Regions from separate parts of the Homo sapiens genome. Here all the other regions are linked to region 3. Evidence: promoter capture Hi-C in 16 types of primary human blood cells and fetal thymus (Javierre and others, 2016). All regions are on one chromosome and are shown on one strand. Each heading gives the region's core, a stretch centred on a gene start or on the middle of the fragment in contact. The rest is flanking DNA. Distances are from core to core; before and after follow the strand shown.

What was found. Contacts are between HindIII fragments. The CHiCAGO score rates a contact against its expected background, and 5 or more counts as called.
Region 1: a fragment that was not itself captured here is called in contact with the fragment with the promoter of SLC26A8 in region 3 in 1 of 17 cell types (naive B cells); the score reaches 5.5 in naive B cells.
Region 2: a contact is called between a fragment that was not itself captured here and the fragment with the promoter of SLC26A8 in region 3, in 7 of 17 cell types (naive CD4 T cells, naive CD8 T cells, total CD4 T cells and 4 more). The highest score is 9.5, in naive CD4 T cells.
Region 4: a fragment that was not itself captured here is called in contact with the fragment with the promoter of SLC26A8 in region 3 in 3 of 17 cell types (total CD8 T cells, naive CD8 T cells and naive B cells); the score reaches 5.8 in total CD8 T cells.

Annotation. Positions count from the first base shown.
Region 1 is chr6:36,296,761-36,300,141 of GRCh38, reverse strand. The region is part of intron 5 of PNPLA1 (patatin like domain 1, omega-hydroxyceramide transacylase); the gene reads right to left. Among named protein-coding and RNA genes, the nearest start is that of PNPLA1, 28 kb to the right of the region's middle. The HindIII fragment of the contact is 3,545 bases long and covers 298-3,381 here.
Region 2 is chr6:36,368,756-36,372,136 of GRCh38, reverse strand. It overlaps ETV7 (ETS variant transcription factor 7), which reads left to right. Exons shown (of 8, transcript NM_016135.4): 5 at 577-807; 6 at 3,066-3,208. Among named protein-coding and RNA genes, the nearest start is that of ETV7-AS1, 16 kb to the left of the region's middle. The HindIII fragment of the contact is 7,053 bases long and covers 1-3,381 here.
Region 3 is chr6:36,022,567-36,025,945 of GRCh38, reverse strand. SLC26A8 (solute carrier family 26 member 8) reads left to right here and starts at 1,305. Exons shown (of 20, transcript NM_052961.4): 1 at 1,305-1,442. RefSeq lists enhancers at 859-1,358, 1,359-1,860. The HindIII fragment of the contact is 10,062 bases long and covers 372-3,379 here.
Region 4 is chr6:36,385,033-36,387,989 of GRCh38, reverse strand. It overlaps ETV7 (ETS variant transcription factor 7), which reads left to right and starts at 321. Exons shown (of 8, transcript NM_016135.4): 1 at 321-454; 2 at 2,321-2,456. The coding sequence starts at 449. It overlaps ETV7-AS1 (ETV7 and PTX1 antisense RNA 1), which reads right to left and starts at 1,370. Exons shown (of 2, transcript XR_926758.3): 1 at 1,060-1,370. RefSeq lists a silencer at 91-300 and an enhancer at 427-1,250. The HindIII fragment of the contact is 215 bases long and covers 1,162-1,376 here.

The sequences.
Region 1 (3,381 bases), core at 821-3,320, 270 kb before region 3:
AACTGTTATAGGCAAGAGGAAACTGAGGAGACGTGACAACAAAATGTAATGTGATCCCTGGGTGGGGGGTCCTGGAACAGAAAAAGAAATTAGGTAAAAACTGAGAAAATCTGAATAAGCAATGGCTCTTAGTTAATAATATGTCAAGATTGGTTCATGAGTTGTAACAAATGTACTGGACTGAATACCGTGTTATATATGTATCATTCTGTAACGTCTAACAGATGTGAGACAAACACCCTGTATTATTTTCACAAGTTATCCATAAATCTAAAACTACCCTAAAAAAACAAAGCTTATTAAGAGTCTAGGTGAGAAATGTACAAAAGAGTGGAACGAATGCTTCACCAAAGAAGATCTATGGGAGGCAAATAGACAAATGAAAAGATGCTCAAAGTCATTAGTCATTAGAGGAATACTGATTAAAACCACAATAAGTTACCGACATGCACCTGTTAGAAGGGCTAAAATGAAAAATTCTGAGCATTAATTAAAAATACCAAAAGTTGGCCGGGCGCAGTGGCTCACGCCTGTAATCCCAGCACTTTGGGAGGCCGAGGCGGGTGGATCACGAGGTCAAGAGATCGAGACCATCCTGGCCAACATGGCGAAACCCCGTCTCTACTAAAAATGCAAAAAATTAGCTGGGCGTGGTAGCGGGCGCCTGTAGTCCCAGCTACTCGGGAGACTGAGGCAGGAGAATGGTGTGAACCCAGGAGGTGGAGCTTGCAGTGAGCCGAGATCATGCCACTGCACTCCAGCCTGGGTGACAGAGCGAGACTCCATCTCAAAAAAAAAAAAAAAAACAGACAAAAAAACAAAAAAAACCCCAAAAGTTTTGGAGGAATGGGAACGCTCATCCACTGCTGGTGGGAATGAAACATGGTACAACTGCTTTGGAAAACAATTTGGCAGTTTATTAAAAAGTCAAACATATATTCTGGTTATATATCCAAAATAATTGAATAGGATCTGGAAGAGACATCCATGGGCACTGCAGCATTATCCACAATAGCCGAAAGATGGAAGCAACTCCAGTGTCCTTTGTCAGATGGATGGACAAAGAACATGTGGAATATATTCAGCTCTAAAAAGGAAGAAAATCGGCCAGGCGCGGTGGCTCACCCCAGTAATCCCAGCACTTTGGGAGGCCGAGGCAGGCAGATCACGAGGTGAGGAGATCGAGACCATCCTGGCCAACATGGTGAAACCCTGTCTCTACTAAAAATACAAAAATTAGCTGGACGTGGTGGCGTGTGCCTGTAGTCTCAGGTACTCAGGAGGCTGAGGCGGGAGAATCGCTTGAACCCAGGTGGCAGAGGTTGCAGTGAGCTGAGATCACACCACCACACTCTAGCCTGGACAACAGAGCGAGACTCCGTCTCAAAAAAGGAAGAAAATCCTGTCACATGCTACAGCTACAACATGGATGAACCTTGAGGCCATTATGTTAAGTTAAATAAGCCAGTCACAAAAAGACAAATACCGCATGATTCCATTTATATGAAGTACCTAGTGTAGTCAAAATCATCAGCACAGAAAGTGGGATGGTGGTTGCTGGGGGCTGGAGGAGGAGAAAAGGGGGAGTTGTTGATCAATGTGTGTAAAGGCTCAGTTTTGCAAGATGAAAAAGTTCTAGAGATCTGCTGCACAACAATATGAAATAGTTAACACTACTGAACTGTGTGCTTAAAATTTGTTACGTGTTTTTTTACCACAATTAAAATATTTGTGTATGTATGTTAAACATGAATGTACCATGCAATCCCGTCATTCCATTTCTAGGTATTTACCCAAGAGAAATGAAAGCATATGTCCACACCAAGACTCATGCGTGAGTGTTCATAGCAGCTTTATCCATAATAGCCCAAATCTGAAAATAACCTAAATGTCCATCAACAGGGGACTGGGTAAATGGGCTGTGGTATATGCATACAGTGGTATATTCAACTCTTTTGGTAGATGAGCTGTGGTACATTCATACAGTGGCACGGAACGTAAAAAGGAACAAACTATTTATACATTCAACAACATGGATGAATCTCAGAATAATTATGCAGAGTGAAAGAATTCAGATTTTTAAAAAAGAGTTCACATTGTAGTGAATTAATCTATAATGGCAGAAAGCAGATCAGGGGTTGCTTGGGAATGGCGGGGGGTGAGGGAAGGTGGGAGGGATCACGAAAGGGCATGAGGAAATTTTGGGGATGACGAATTATTCACTAACTTAATTGTGGTGATGGTTTCACAGGGTGTGTGTGTGTGTGTGTGTGTGTACAGAGAGACAGAGTCACTTACCAAACTGTGAGAGGGAAGAAGGGAGTGGGGGAGGAGGGCGGAAGAGAGGTTTGGCCAGGCATGCCTGAATGCCGGATGGATATTTTAGACATGGCATCCTCTGAGCTCCAACCTCACTCAGCACCCACATTCACACATCTGTGTGGGGAATGCGGATTTTCAAGCACGCCAGCCTGCGCTGCCATTCCCTTTGGCAGAAGGCCGCTGCAAGGATGGGCCGAGTGTAGACAGAGTGGCTTGCCTGGCAGCAAGAATAATTAATTCTCCTCCCTTGGGAGGGAGGAGAAAGAGGCTGTGAGAATGTGAGCTGAGGAATGGAGGGTGACACCTTTTGGGGTGTAGTTTCCTGCTGGAGGTGACCCCTACCCAGAAAGCAGCCCAGGGGAGGCTGGGCGGACTCCCATTTTCTGTTCCCAGATGGCAGGTGGGGATAAGAGTGTGGCTCTGGAGACCAACTGCAGTTTCTCAGTATGTGTCAGTAGTTCCTGTTCACATCTGATGCAGAGAGAAAAATCCAGTCCCACCAAATCCAAGAGGACTGAGGTGGTGGAGGTGAAATCTGCGCTGAGAAACCCGTGCCATACACTGGCAAATCGGAAGAGGAAGCAAAAATAGCTGGTAGTCAGCACGAGACCATTTCTCCTTTAGGAGTTGTATCTGTTCCTACTTGGAGTGATTCCAGGGCCATTGAAGAAGCCTGCCCCCATCCATATACTGGCTCAATTTTGGGGACAGATTCCTGAAGTGCCACCATCAGATTTCACCCAGCAGTAGGCGGGACTGACTGTGGCTAGGACTCAGCACTTTGACGTTCTCATGAGAGCTACCATTTATTTGAGCATTGTGATAAGGGCTTGTGGCTTTGCTCCTTTAATCTTCAAAATAAAACCATAAGGCCCCTTTTACAGATGAGGAAACTGAGGCCCCAGGAGATTAATTACCTGCTCAATATCACACAGTTAGTAGGTGTCAGGAGCTAGGATCTAAACCCCCTTTTTTTTACAGATTAGGAAACCAAGCCTTAGAGAGGGGAAGCAATTATCCGGAGGTCACACAGCTTGTGGGTGGGATGGGGGCCTTAGA
Region 2 (3,381 bases), core at 445-2,944, 350 kb before region 3:
AGGCCTGAGCAGCCTCTCTAAAGTGGCAACCCCTGCTCCTTTCCCAGATTTCCCTATCTGCCTTAGGGTGATTTATTTTTTTCACCTCATATTGTATACTGTTTCTGTTTCCTTTTTATTTTAATCGTCCATCTCCCCTGCTCTCAACTAGCATATAAGCTCCCTGAGGGCAGGGGCTTTGGGAGCTCAGCGATATATGCTCAAGATTCTTAGAACAATGCCTGGTTCATAGAAGGCTCTCAATAAATACTCGTTGGGCAAATGGAGAGGACATGGGATACAGGGCCCCTGGGTTCTAGACCTGGCTCTGTCACTGCTTGGCTTTGCAGCCATTTTCATAGATGAGGGAACAGGCTTGACAGGTTGTTACTTGTGTGGGAGCTGGGGTTAGCACTTAGGCTGTCTGGCCCTCACCCACTGCCCCCCACTGCCTCCCTGACCTTCTAACCAGGGGCTGGTTGGAGAAAGAGCATCAGGAGTGCTGCCCCACAGGGCTCCCAGGCTCACCATTGAGGGATTGAGTTGGGGAGGCTTGGGGCCCACTGCCTGCTACCACTGGTGCTCATCTGCTTGCAGAGGTGACTGGCCCCTCTCAGATGGACACCCGAAGGGGCCACCTGCTGCAGCCACCAGACCCAGGGCTTACCAGCAACTTCGGCCACCTGGATGACCCTGGCCTGGCAAGGTGGACCCCTGGCAAGGAGGAGTCCCTCAACTTATGTCACTGTGCAGAGCTCGGCTGCAGGACCCAGGGGGTCTGTTCCTTCCCCGCGATGCCGCAGGCCCCCATTGACGGCAGGATCGCTGGTGAGTGGGAGGCTGTTCCTCTGGCCATGGAAGGTGCACTGAGTCTGAGTCTCAGAGTCACGAGTGATGAGGACAGGGCTATTTTGACCTGGTGATGGGAGGTCTGTGGCTGGGGGATTGCAGGGTAGCGTTGACTGTCCTGTGTGCTAGCCACAATCTGGTCACAGAGGGCAGTGATACCTGGGATCACCAAGCCTCACCCTGTCTCCCACACAGGGACAATTTACCCAGTCATATTCTGACACTCACATTAGCATGGAGTGCCACACCTGCCTTTTAAAACTTTATCTGTTTTAAAATAATTGAGCATTCACTATGTGCCAGGCGTGGTTCCCAAGCCCTTATTTAATTCTACAATGGCCTTTTGAGTTTGGTACTATTATTAGCCCCATTTCACAGATATGGAAATTGAGGCACAGAAAGGTTAAGTAACTTCTCCAAGATCACACAGCACTGGTTGAGGTGTGATGTGAACCCAGGCAGTCTGGCTCCAGATCCTGAGCGCTAACCAAATGATACACTTCCACTCTGCATTCATTGTTAAAGGATTAACAGGCAGACAACCAGACAGACTGACAGATAAGCTGAAGGGTGTTTTTCTAGTCATAATAGTGACACTGCATTTATTCTTTTTTTTTTTCAACTTTTATTTTAGGTTCAGGGGGTGCATGTGCAGGTTTGTTACATGGGTAAATTGCGTGCCACTGAGGTTTGGTGTATGAATAATCCTGTCACCAAGGTACTCAGCATAGTACTTGATAGGAAGTTTTTCTTTTCTTTTCTTTTCTTTTTTTGAGACGGGAGTCTGGCTCTTTTGCCCAGGCTGGAGAGCTGTGGCATGATCTCAACTCACTGCATCCTCTGCCTCCCGGGTTCAAGCGATTCTCCTGCCTCAGCCTCCTGGGTAGCTGGGATTACAGGCGCCCACCACCACACCTGGCTAATTTTTGTTTTATTAGTAGAGACGGTTTCACCATGTTGGCCACAGGCTGGTCTTGAACTCCTGACCTCAGGTGATCCACCCACCTCGGCCTCCTTTGGTGCTGGGATTACAGGCGTGAACCACCGTGCCGGCCTGTGATAGGTAGTTTTTTCCACCCTGGCTCTTCCCCTGTAGTGGTCCCCAGTGCCCAGTGTCTATTGTTCCCATTGTTATGTCCACACCACATTTATTCTATGAAGCCACAGAGTGGGCAGAAGCCTGGCTTTTGGGTTGGAAATGACTAGAAGTCACTAAAAAACAATTGGCCCAACACATAGAAATGATGAATACTTGAGGTGATGGATGCCCTAAGTACCCTGACTTGATCGTTACACACTCTATGCATGCAACAAGATCTCACATGGACGCCAGAAACATGCATAAATATTATGTATCAATAACAAACACAATGATCCACAATTACTGGGTTTTTTTTTTTTTAAGAGACAGGGTCTCACTCTGTTGCCAGGCTGGAGTGCAGTGATGCCACCATAGCTCACTGCTGCCTCAAATTCCTGGGCTCAAGGAATCCTCCCACTTCAGCCTCTTGCAATTACTGAATTCTTCAATTATAATGCTTAACATTCTTCGTGCACTTACAGTATACCAGGCACTGTGCTGAGGGTTTTGTGGTCTATTATGTTACCTAATTCTCTCACCACCCCATACAAGGAAGCTGGCTCAGAGAAGGTTGTGTAACTTGCCTGCAATGGCCCAGCCGACAGGCCCAGGTCCTGGGATTTCAGATCACACAGTTGCTCCCGGATGCCCACTTGCCCTCCCAATGGCATGCCTGGTTTTCCTGAGCCTCACCATTAGGGAGCTTGAAGGGGTGGATGTTATAATTAATAGAAGTCCAGGGGGCTGAGTGAGTGGGCCAGGGGCAGAGAGGGACCTGGGGTCAGGGGCCCAGCCCCTCAGCCTGTGGGCCCAGCACCTGCCCTCACATGGCTCTGATGCTGGGTGGAGCCGGTCAGACTCCCTGCTCTACCTGCCACTTAGGAGCTTGGCAACTTTAGATACCTCTGCACCTCTGAGCCCATTTCCTCACCTCTTCCTGGGGATAAAGGTAACGACTTCCCAGACTCAGGAAGACTGCCTGAGACAATGCGTGAGGAGCCCCATTAGTGGCTGTTTCTGTTGATATCATCATTTTCACCTTCCTGCTGGTGCTCCTAGGGCTCTGGCCGGGAGGCTTCCAAGAGTGCCTTTCTAACACCTGTCCTCACAGCTCCAGTAAAGCTGCGCTGCCTGCACTCCCTGTGCTAAATTGCAGACTGCCGCCTGCTGTGGGATTACGTGTATCAGCTGCTCCTTGATACCCGATATGAGCCCTACATCAAGTGGGAAGACAAGGACGCCAAGATCTTCCGAGTTGTGGATCCAAATGGGCTCGCCAGACTCTGGGGAAATCACAAGGTGAGCCTCGGCCAGCAGAATGGTCTCAACATAACCAGAAGGGGACAGAGTTGGGGGTCAGAGTGGACCCCTAGCACTATGGGACAATCCTCAGCTGATGGGGCCTTCATCAGCAGCCCCAAAAGTGACAGGATAATTTTATTTGGGGAGCTATTGAGGGACAGGCAGTTACC
Region 3 (3,379 bases), core at 56-2,555:
GCACAATGTCTAGAACATAAAACATGTGTCATAAATATTTGTTGAAAAAATTATGAACAGTGACCATGATTTCAAGTGGTACAGTATCCTCAGTCCTCTTCAAGGAAAGCAATATAAAACCAAAAAACAGATAGTCATGGGTGATTCATGGAAAGCTGTTTTGGATCCAATGTAGCTTAGGCTGGAATTCTCTTATCTACAAAAACATGTTGCTTGAGAATGTTCCAAACTAGGGAGGATAGGAAGCTTTCTAAGAAGTAATGGAGGGTGAAGGGGAAGTAAGAGCAAAAACATGATTGTGAAGACATGAGGGATGGGGTTGGGGGGATCAAGGGAATGAGGGAATGGTTACAAAGGGTGAGGAGGAAGCTTGGAAGTAGGAATCCTCAGAAATGCACATTTTTATCCTACAAATTGGGATGATGAGGTGAGGGTGAATGAAAGGGTAAAGATAAAGTAAGCAGTATATTCATACACTCATTCAACCAATGTGTATTAAATGCCTACTAGGTGTCAAACACTTGCAGTTTAAAAGTGATTAAAAACTACAGTTGCTGCCGGTGTGGAGCTTACAATCAATGGGAGGGCAATCATTCAACAAAAATTAATTGAATACTTCCTATGTCCACCACACTGCTGTAGGCACTGATAATAAAACAGTTAATGAAAGGGATAAAAGTCCTTGCCCTCATAGGGGTAAGATGATTTACAAAAAGGAATACATAAAGTGCATTATAAGGTAGACATTAACACAGTCATCAAACAAACAAGTGTAAAACTGTAACTGGGCCAAGCAGGAATACAAGGTGGAGTGAGAGACAGTGCTAGGGACAGGGATAGGGTGGGAGGAGGGTAAAGGGAGTGAGTGCAGATGGCATGTCTGCATCCAGAGCAGATCTGGGCAGGAGGGTGTCATTCAGTGGGGAGAGCCGGGTTTGTGGGGCAGACAGCCTATGGTTGGAGACCTGGGTGACCCTCCTAGCCTCCATTTCTTTTTACCTCTTCTGACCTGAGGAAGGCTTAAGTCTTCCGGAGACGTTAGTGAATTACCGTCTGTGCAGTACACATGTGACACATGTGCACTGCTGTATGTTCAGGACACGAGGCCTGGCACCAAATAGGCCCTCGATCAAGAATAGCAAAACCTCGGAGAGAGAAGGAGCCTTGGTATACAGGTTTACCAAATACCAAGGGGATCCCACGACTCAGGTATGAGGAGGGCGACCCAGGTACCACTTTCCTGGCTCCCTAGCCCAGCTGCTCATGCTCCTCTTCCTCGTCCCCTCCCCCACTCTCATCTCCTCAGCCCGCCCGGAACGCCCGCGGGCTAGGCCACAACGGCTCGGGAACCGCCGCCGGTATCCGCGTCCGCAGCGCCGCCAGCCAGGCGAGAGCCGTGTGGGATCCCAGCGCCCGCACTCCCGCCCCCGCCAAGGAGCCAGGTGAGCCGCTGCTGGGAGACGCCTGGGCGCCGGGGGCTGCAGGTCCCAGGGCGGGGGCTGCGTCCGTCACCGGCAGGTACCCAGGTATGCCGCAGAGCCAGGCACGCCGTGGGCACTCAGTCAGTATCTGTGGAATGAATGAATGATGGTCGTCCCTGGGAGCTTATCTCTGAGGTATTGTCTCTACTTTCAAAGGCCGTGTGGATGGCAATGACAAGAGACAACAGTGTGTGCGTTTTGCAAGCTGCATCCTTTCAAATTCTCCTGTCTATATTGTCAAAAGCCCCAGAACTGACGTGCTACCTGCACCCCACCGCCTACCCCATCCATTTCCTCCTGAGGCCTGACTGCCCGGCCGTTCCTCTTCCTTTCAGACCCCACTGCTTTTGTTAATTTTGTTCCCTGTGACTGAATCCCCACCCCCACCTCCTTGCCCCTTTCTTTTCATGTCAAATGCCGTTGATGTGTCAGGGGCCCCGTGAAGCCTTCTCCAGCACCCCCACCCCAATAATGAGCATCTCTCCAACACACCATGTTACTCTATCCACATTGCATGGAAGGTGGTTGTCCTATGTTTATGTGTCCAATGGTCATCCGCTTAAGGACTGTCATCTTACTAGTCATCCCTAGCCACTAGCCAGAGTGACTAAAGGATCTAAAGGCCAGGCTCTTTGCTTATACCTTTTCTGTATTCCCAATACATTCTCCATAAAAACCTAGGTAGTAACAGGTGTAGGGTTGTTTCTGATGGAATTACAAATGCTTATTTTGAAAATTCGGAAGTAAATTTTGCCTTTCCGTGATTATAGAAAACATAAGAAAGTTAACAATATCAGGGGGAAGATATTCCTGCAACTAAACTAGCTTTCAAGATTTCATATTATTTGGGTCAATAGCTAAAAAATTGGATTGTATTTAAACTTTTTATTCTTGACTTTTTTTTTTTTTTTTTTTTTTGAGACAGAGTCTTGCTCTGTCGCCCAGGCTGGAATGCAGTGGTTTGATCTCGGTTCACTGCAACCTCTGCCTCCTAGGTTCAAGCGATTCTCCTGCCTCACCCTCCTGAGTAGCCAGGACTACAGGCACGCCATCATGCTCGGCTAATTTTTGTATTTTTATTAGAGACGGGGTTTCACCATGTTGGCCAGGCTGGTCTTGAACTCCTGACCTCAGCTGATCCAACCGCCTTGGCCTTCCAAAGTGCTGGGATTACAGGCATGAGCCACTGAGCCATGTCTGGCCTATTCTTTACTTTTAAAGCACTCTGAACACAGATAATGTAAATAATTAGATAAATGGATGGATGGATGGATGGATGGATGGATGGATGGATGGATGGATAAGGGTACTATGGAGGGTGAAAGAGCTAGGCCAAAAGTGCTTGTATTTTAACAGGGCCCCCAAATTTAGCACTGAAAGGCTCATGAAAGATAATCCACTATATTTATAGTGGTAGTCATACTTTAATTTTTATCAGAATCACCTGGACAGCTTCTTTGCTTTTTTTCTACCTAGCAAGACCTACTGAATCAGAATCTCTGGGGGCCCAGCAGTCTGGACAGCTTCTTAAAACAGACTGATGGCCCCCAGAGTTTCTGATTCAGTAGGTCTTGCTAAGTGGGGCCTACTCAACAGTAGGAGTTTCTGGTCATTGCATCTTCTTGGGAAGTGTCCTGCTAGTACATGAAAATGAGCCACTAGGATTTCTATGAAATCAAGAAAGACATAATGGAGCTGGAGAAATTCCAAAGAAAATTACTTAAAAAAAATAATAAGGAAACCATGCGTTTACCCTTGCTGCTGTTAGCCAGACATTTGATGGAGTTCCTTAAAGACAACTTTCCACCTGCTCCTCCTAGCCATCCTCACTGTGGTCGTAGGAGTTTATGACTTGATAACATCTCCTAGACTAATATTAATGGTCTCCAATTGGCTGT
Region 4 (2,957 bases), core at 20-2,519, 360 kb before region 3:
CCGGCTCTGCCCCAGTGGGAGCCAAGGCCAGGTCGCCAGAGGGACTGTCCGCCGGCTGGAGGCTGTGTGCAGGACCCACGCCTCCCAGGCTAGCGAGCGGGCAGCGCCCCGGTGCTGCGCTCCCACGGGGCCGGCCCCTGCCCTGCCCTGCCCTGCTCCTAGCCCGCAGCGGCGCAAGTGGAACCGCATCCCGCTCTTTCGTTTTCGTTTCCCGGAAGGATAGCGATTACCGGAGCGCCTCGCGCGCCTGCCCGCCTGCGGAGGACCCGGGCGCACACGCCTTGGCGCTTCTCGAAAGAGATTTCCTCCCACGCGACCTTCCAGTTCTCGGAGCCAGGTTAGGGGTTTGGCGGAGGAGGACTGCGGGGCGCGGGCCTAGGGCCCCAGCAGCCACAGCCAGGGGAGCGCTCAAGACAGAAAGCCGGTGGCTTCCTCACCTCCACCTGTAATGCAGGTAAGAGCCTGGCGGCTGAACACGCAGCGCGCACGCAGAGCCACCTGCTCCCGCATCCTTTCCTCACCACCTAGATTTCCAAACCTATTTTATCAGACCTTTTACCTGGCGGGAATCTCTCTTTCCAACACATTCCTAAACCTCACATCCATCCCTCACTCACTTCCCCTTCCACCTCCAGACGCGGGTCACCGCCCCTGACTCTCTCGGTGTCATACACAGCTCTGAAGGCATCACGCACAGCCCCTGCGGGCCCTTTCCGCAGCCCCCTTACCACTGGTCGCCCCTACACCAACCAGATGTGAGGTCTTTGGAAGTTCGTGCGCCAGCCAGGTCCTCACAGCTGGTGAACGCATTCTCGCAGGGAGCCCCTCTTTAGCAGCCTCTCCCCACTCGCCGGTTTTCTAGGTGCCTCGAGACTGCCCCCAGAGCTGGCGCCCCGTCCCACTCCAAGGCCTTTCTCCACTCCCCTCTCGCCAGGACCCATACCCATTATCAGACCCTTCCCTGGCCTCCATGCTGAAACCCAGGAGTCTGATCCTCAGCAGCTCCGTGGCTGGCGTTTCCCAGGCAGTTACAGCCTCGGAATTCCCCGCTCCTCTTACTTGGATGAGGACAGAGGAGTAGACAAAGAGCCTCCTGCAAGCCTCCTTGGCAAGTCCGAGGCAAGTCCTGTGCCTTGAGCCCCTTCTCCAGCAAGGCAAGCTTCCCTTTCCCCACCAGGAGGCAACCCCTGAGGTCTGATTACTTGGGAAACAGCACCAAAGGGGGACCGGCTGGAAATGAAGTGAGAACGACCCGGAAAGGTGTTGAATCCCCTTTCGCAGCAGCCAAGGCTTCTGGAGTTTGCTTTGCTGGCTCCGATCCAAATTCTCTCTCGGCAGATATCTCTCCTCGGATCCCAAGAGATGAATGTAAAGCTTTTGACAATCCTAGAGTGAAAAATGACTTGATGGAGCTGGTTTCACTTTTCCTTTCCGTGCTGTGGCAGCCTGTGGCTGGGCATGAGCCCGAAGGAGCTTCCTATTCCTACAAAATCCTGCCACTTTCTTCATTTTCTCATCTGAATGGATGAACCCCGTCATCTCTGGGGGCCATGCTGATTGTTGAATTGTAAAGATACAGGCTTCCCGTGGTGAGACCTTAGGATTCAGAAATGTATCCTTATCCTTTCTTTTTCTCTTTTGAAAATAGTGTTTGTTTGTTCTGAGACGGAGTCTTGCTCTCTTGCCCAGGCTGGAGTGCAGTGGCGTGATCTTGGCTCACTCCAACTTCCGCTTCCCGGGTTCAAGTGATTCTCCTGCCTCAGCCTCCTGAGTAGCTGGGATTACAGGCGCCGGTCACCACGCACGGCTAATTTTTGTATTTTTCGTAGAGATAATGTTTCACTATGTTGGTCAGGCTGGTCTCAAACTCCTGACCTCAAGTAATCCACCCGCCCCAGACTCCCAAAGTGTTGAGATTATAGGTGTGAGCCACCGCACCTGGTCTATTTGTTTATTTCTGATTTAAGGTCTTTTGATCCTGGCCCCTCAGGTTTCCTGTGTTGTCCTCACCAGGGATCCAGTGAGGATTCCTAGGCTTTCAGATTTCAATCATACAAGTCTTGGCAGGGGATCCCTCTTGGAGTTAGGCACATGCATGGAAAGCTTGAATTGGAAGGATGTCATTTATTGTGTCCACTGGGTACAAAATGTTGATGGTACTGAGTTGAAGATATACATGGTTCCTACCTTTAAGGTTGATGCAGTCTTCTGGTGGAGATAAACACTCTTTCCCTTCCAAAAAAATTCTTAAGACATTTAAAGATGGCTGAGCCTTCACCAAGATGCTCTTCTTTGACTGTCCTGGTTTTTCTCTCTCTAGGAGGGAGAATTGGCTATTTCTCCTATAAGCCCTGTGGCAGCCATGCCTCCCCTAGGCACCCACGTGCAAGCCAGATGTGAAGCTCAAATTAACCTGCTGGGTGAAGGGGGGATCTGCAAGCTGCCAGGAAGACTCCGTAAGTAGAGGGGAGGAGAAAAGCTGAGTTTTTAAAAGTAAATTTTTATTTTGTTTTAGATCCAGGGTCTTGCTCTGTTGCTTACTTAGGCTAGAGTGCAGTGGTGTAATCATAGCTCACTGCACCTTCAACTTCCAGCTCCTGGGTTCAAGTAATCCTCCCACCTCAGCCTCTCCAATAGCTGGGACTACAGGCACACTGGCTAATTTTAAAATTTTTAGTAGAAATGGGAATCTCAGTATGTTGCCCAGGTTGGTCTTGAACTCTTGGGCTCAAGCTATCCTCTCGCCTCTGCCTCTCAAAGTGCTGGGATTACAGGTCTGAACCACTATACCTGGCCCTTAAAATTAAATTTTTTTTTAAATAAGAGACAGGGTTGCTCTATGTTGCCCAGGTTGTTCTCAAACTCCTGGGCTCAAGTAATCCTCCCATCTCGGCTTCCCAAAGTGCTGGGATCACAGGCATGAGCCACTGTGTCTGGCCAAAATTTTATATATATCT